Linked DNA regions of Homo sapiens: region 2 is linked to region 1. The links are contacts of gene promoters, found by promoter capture Hi-C in blood cells and fetal thymus (Javierre and others, 2016). All regions are on one chromosome and are shown on one strand. The core of a region is centred on a gene start or on the middle of the fragment in contact, and the rest is flanking DNA. Distances in the headings are between cores, read along the strand shown.

Region 1 (2,700 bases), core at 88-2,587:
TAGGCACAGGGTCTTGCGCCTGTAATTGCAGATATTTGGGAGGCCAAAGTGGGAGGATCCTTAACAGCTAGGAGTTTGAGACCAGCCTGGGCAAAATAGTGAGACCCTGTCTCTACAAAAAATAAAACTTAGTCGAGTGTGGTGGCCCTTGCTTGTACTCTCAGCTACTTGGGAGGCTGAGATGGGAGGATCCCTTGAGCCCAGGAGTTTCAGGTTACAGTGAGTTATGATCTCATTCTCCATCTGCTTCATTCCGGCCTGGCAACAGAGCAATATACTCTCTCTTAAATAAATAAACAAATAAATAAAAAGTTAAAAAAATCTTTTTGAAGATTTGCACTTGTATATGCACTTGACCTTTGTGCTTCACTGTGTTTCTTTTGGACAGTGCTGGTATAAATTCAGTGAACATGTTCAGAATGAAAGGATAAGTCAACAACCCCACAGTTCTTCCTTCTTTCCCTTTGCAGACTACAGGGTTGATGTTCCTTTCTGAGAGGTGACAGCAGCAAGTGACACACATCCCTACCTGAGACCAGTGCACACAGGCTGAGAAGGAGGAGGAGCAGGAGGAGGAGGAGGGAGGCTGGCAGGGAGAAGTGCAGAGCAGCAGCTGGTTCCATGAGCACCCAGGGCAGGCAGAGACCAGAGGCCTAGGGTTACAGAGGAGGAGAATCAGCCTAGGAGTCTTGGCACCTCAGTGCTGGTCGGGCCCAACCTCTCCTGTCACTCAAGTAGGTCTCATCGGTGCCCCAACTTCTGGGAGTCGCTTGCATCTCAAGGCTCAGGTATCTCCGAAAGAGGGATTCCGTAAACATTCCATAAGTAAGCCATCAATGCAGAGATCAAGGGGGCCGTTTTCCTCCTTCCTCTTCCCACTTCTCGGGCCACAGTCCGGTTTCTTCAGTTGTCCCTGGATTCTTTCACACCCTCGTCCCTCCACTTCCCCCTCCCCGAGACCCAGGTCGGGACACTCGAGGTAAAGCCAGGCGAGGCTGCGCCTCCCCACCAGTAGGCTTCCTGTCTCCCAGGTCCCCCTCTCCTCTCCAGAGCAGATCCCGCTCCCCGCACCTACCGCCCCCAGCTACCGCCCCCACCCCGGAGCTGTAGCGCCTCCTCTCCCTTTCCTACCTTCTAGAACTAACCTCTGTTTTCTTTTCCCCTCTGATCCTCACATGACGATTTTCCGATACAACTCACCCATGGGCACAGTCACCACCAGACAACAAAGCATCCCAAAGAGAAGAGAAAAGCTGTGTTCACCTCCTATTAATCGCGATGTTTGGAGTTGCGGACTCGGTATCTGGGACCTGTTCTCTGGGTGTCCAAAAAGTCCCAAGATTTCCACTGAGCAGTTTAGAGCCCAGGATTGGCCGAGTGAGGCTGAACCAACCAATGGTGTCTCGAGCCTTATTTCTCAGCTGTTACTAGGTAGAATACACACACAAAAACCCCCCAAAAATCTCAAGCAGCAAATAACCTTTTGGGATTATTAGGTATTTCTATTTCCTTTTTCTGTCTTTGGAAGCAAGACTTTTTTCCTTTATTTTCCTTTCTTCCTTCCTTTCTTCCTTCCTTCCTTGCTTCCTTCTTTCCTTTCTCATTCTCTTTTTCTTTCTTTCTTTCTTTCATATGTCTCTCTCTCACTTTATTCTTTCTTTCTTTCTCGCTTTCTTTCTTTTTTCTTCCTTCCTTCCTTCCTCTCTCTTCCTTTCTCTCTTTCTCTTCCTTCTCTTCTCCTTCCTTTCTTTCTTTCTCTTTCTTTCTTTCTTTCTTTCTTTCTTTCTTTCTTTCTTTCTTTCTTTCTTTCTTTCTTTCTTTCCTTCTCTCTCTCTCTCTTTCTTTCTTTCCTTCCGTTCTTTTACAAAGCCTTGAGATCCCCAAGGTGTCAGTGGCTTTGCTGGTGTAGACGAGGAGAGGGCTCTCTATGTAGAGTGATTTTGCTGGGGAGGAAACATGAGGAGGAAAACATAAGCCGCCGTCTTTCCAAAGCCAGAGGACTCTTGTTCATGTTGCTGGCTTTGAAGGTTGGGCCTGGTGCGCGGGAGGCCTTGGGGGAAGCAGGCATGGCTGGAGTGGGAGGGGTAGCAAAGGAAAGGTGACAGCAGTTGCAGTGGCTGTTATGAAGGTCTTGTTGTTCACTCCAAAGCTATTGGATAAGACGTGCTGAGAATACTGAGTGAGGATTAAAAACCCTTTCCCACGGGGAGGTGGTATTCTGGTGGAGGCAGAAGATGGAAGTGAGCAAAGACTTTCAGTTGACCTTGACCTTCTGCCAGTAGGTGGTGGGGTTAAGTCCAAGGACCACACACACACACCAGCACACATAACCTCCTCCCCATGAACATAATCCCTCCCCCACAGAATCCAATCTTGTCATTGTATAGATATCTTCCAGAATAATCTTCCCAAGGCCCAGTTGTCAATAATCCCCTCAAATGTCTAAATACTTAGTCTGGAACTGGTGCAGTGGCTCACACCTGTAATCCCAACACTTTGGGAGGAGGAGGCAGGCAGATCACTTGAAGTCAGGAGTTCAAGACCAGCATGGCCAACATGATGAAACCCCGTCTCTACCAAAAAAAAAAAAAAAAAAAAAATTAGCTGGGTGTGGTGGCACATGCCTGTAATCCCAGCTACTCAGGAGGCTGAGGCAGGAGAATGGCTTGAACCTGGGAGGTGGAGGTTAGGGTGAGCTGA
Region 2 (2,700 bases), core at 172-2,671, 1.5 Mb before region 1:
TCAGCTACTCATGAGGCTGAGGAAGGAAAATCGCTTGAACCCGGGAGGCAGAGGTTGTGGTGAGCCGAGATTGCGCCATTGCACTCCAGCCTGGGTGACAAGAGTGAAACTCCGACTCAAAAAAAAAAAAAAAAAAAAAAGTAACCATACCTGAACAGACCCTTTCACAAGATAATGTTGTCTCCCAGGAGCATTCAAATTCCAAAGAGAACTATTTACAAGTTAATCTCTTTTCCCCAGTCCACTCATTCTACCTAGTAATCATTTATTGCTCCTCAACAGAATCCCTCTTCTCACAACCCGCCGGTAACTTGTTTAGCTATGACCCAAGCCCTCATTCTTTCTGTAACCTTTTTCTAGCTTAAGAATGTTTGTGGCTGGGCGCGGTGGCTCACGCCTGTAATCCCAGCACTTTGGGAGGCCGAGGCGGGTGGATCACGAGGTCAGGAGATCGAGACCATCCTGGCTAATACGGTGAAACCTCGTCTCTACTAAAAATACAAAAAATTAGCCTGGCGTGGTGGCAGGCGCCTATAGTCCCAGCTACTCGGGAGGCTGAGGCAGGAGAATGGCGTCAACCCGGGAGGTGGAGTTTGCAGTGAGCCGAGATCGCGCCACTGCACTCCAGCCTGGGTGACAGAGCGAGACTGTGTCTCAAAAAAAAAAAAAAAAAAAAAAAAAAAGAATGTTTGTAGGCTGGGTGCGGTGGCTCACGCCTGTAATCCCAGCACTTTGGGAGACCGAGGCGGGTGGATCACGAGGTCAGGAGATCGAGACCATCCTGGTTAACACGGTGAAACCCTGTCTCTACTAAAAATTACAAAAAATTAGCTGGGCGTGGTGGCGGGTGCCTGTAGTCCCAGCTATTCCGGAGGCTGAGGCAGGAGAATGGCGTGAACCTGGGAGGTGGAGCTTGCAGTGAGCCAAGATCGCGCCACTGCACTCCAGCCTGGGCAACAAAGCGAGACTCCATCTAAAAAAAAAAAAACAAGAAGAATGTTTGTAAACCTTTGTACACTGTTGGGAAGTGGGTAAATACTCTGTAGTTGTTTCCCATGTGCATGTTAACACATTTGTAAGGCTTTTCTCTTATAAATCTGCCTTTTGTGGTAAAACGTTGTAAATGACTACAGGACACCAGGGAAGACCCCTTATCTCTTCACTATTGATTCTTATTATAGATGAACTTCCCTGTTTTCTCTCTTACACAAAGACTTCGTCACTATCATATTGTATAAGATGGAATTTTAAATATACTCTTTTAAATGTGAAAGAAAATAAAAACAAGCTGTAACTAATCAAATTGTACCTCGTAAGCCACCTTTGTACAGAAACTTAAAATTCTATTAAATGTCTTTGTTTTCTATCTATATAAGCAAGATCTTTAGTTTTATCTTTGGAGCTCTGATTGATTCCATTGATCCTGGAGTCTGTTTTCCAAATGGCTATTTCCAGCTTTCCTTTGAATAAACTTAAAAAAAAAATTCTTCTTAATAGAGACAGGGGTCTTGCTATGTTGCCCAGGCTGGTAGGCTGGTCTGAACTCCTGGGCTCAAGCGATCCTCCTGTTAAAGAAAGGCTTCCCAATACAGACCCCAAGAGAGGGTTCTTGGATCTCTTGCAAGAAAAAATTCAGGACAAGTCCACAGTGCAAAGTGAAAGCAAGTTTATTAAGAAAGTAAAGGAATAAAAGAATGGCTACTCCATAGAGCAGCCCTGAGGGCTGCTGCTTGCCCATTTTTATGGTTATTTCTTGATGATATGCTAAACAAGAGGTGGATTATTCATGCCTCCCCTCTTTAGACCATATAGGGTAACTTTCTGACGTTACCATGGCATTTGTAAATTGTCATGACCCTAGTGGGAGTGCAGCAGTGAGGACGACCAGAGGTCACTCTCATCACCATTTTGGTTTTGGCTGGCTCCTTTACTGCAATCTGCTTTATTAGCAAGGTCTTTATGGCCTGTATTTTGTGCTGACTTCCTATCTCATGCTGTGACTTAAAATGCTTTAACCGTCTAGGAATGCAGCCCAGGAGGTTTCAGCCTTATTTTACCAGCTCCTATTTAAGATGGTGTTGTTCTGGTTCACACGCCTCTGACATTCCCGCCTTTGCCTTCCAATGTGATGGGATTACAGGTGTGAGCCACCACGCCCAGCCAAATAAATTCTTTACAACTAAATTCTGACCCTTTCAATGATAGGTTGAAAGACTTTCAGGAGAAACTAAGAGGTTTCCTGATAAAGAGTTTTGCAAGTCAGTTTTAAAACCATAAGCACTCGGCCAGACGCGGTGGCTCGCGCCTGTAATTCTAGCACTTTGGGTGGGTTGACTGAGCTCAGGAGTTCGAGACCAGCCTGGGCAAAACGGTGAAACCCCGTCTCTACTAAAAATACAAAAAATTAGCAGAGTGTGGCGGCCTGCGACTGTAGTCCCAGCTACTCGGGAGGCTGAGGCAGAATTGCTTGAACCTGGGAGGCGGAGGTTGCAGTGAGCAGACATCGCGCCACTGCACTCTAGCCTGCGTAACAGAGCGAGACTCCGTCTCCAAAAAACCAAAGCCATAAGCACTCAAAGAATATGGAACATATGGCATAGTAAACGTCAGGCAAGAGGGCGGAGGGCGGTCTCGGTGGCTCACGCCTGAGATCCCCGCACGTTGGGAGGCTGAGGCAGGTGGATCACCTGAGGTCGGGAG

The links. The method cuts DNA at HindIII sites, captures the fragments that hold promoters and counts their contacts. A CHiCAGO score of 5 or more calls a contact.
Region 2: a contact is called between a fragment that was not itself captured here and the fragment with the promoter of BTN2A2 in region 1, in 1 of 17 cell types (neutrophils). The highest score is 5.1, in neutrophils.

What each region holds. Positions count from the first base shown.
Region 1 is chr6:26,381,745-26,384,444 of GRCh38, reverse strand. BTN2A2 (butyrophilin subfamily 2 member A2) reads right to left here and starts at 1,337. Exons shown (of 8, transcript NM_006995.5): 1 at 1,264-1,337; 2 at 530-653. The coding sequence starts at 623. RefSeq lists a silencer at 1,399-1,488. The HindIII fragment of the contact is 7,335 bases long and covers 1-2,700 here.
Region 2 is chr6:27,882,165-27,884,864 of GRCh38, reverse strand. No RefSeq gene overlaps it. Among named protein-coding and RNA genes, the nearest start is that of H3C12, 7.3 kb to the left of the region's middle. The HindIII fragment of the contact is 3,554 bases long and covers 1-2,700 here.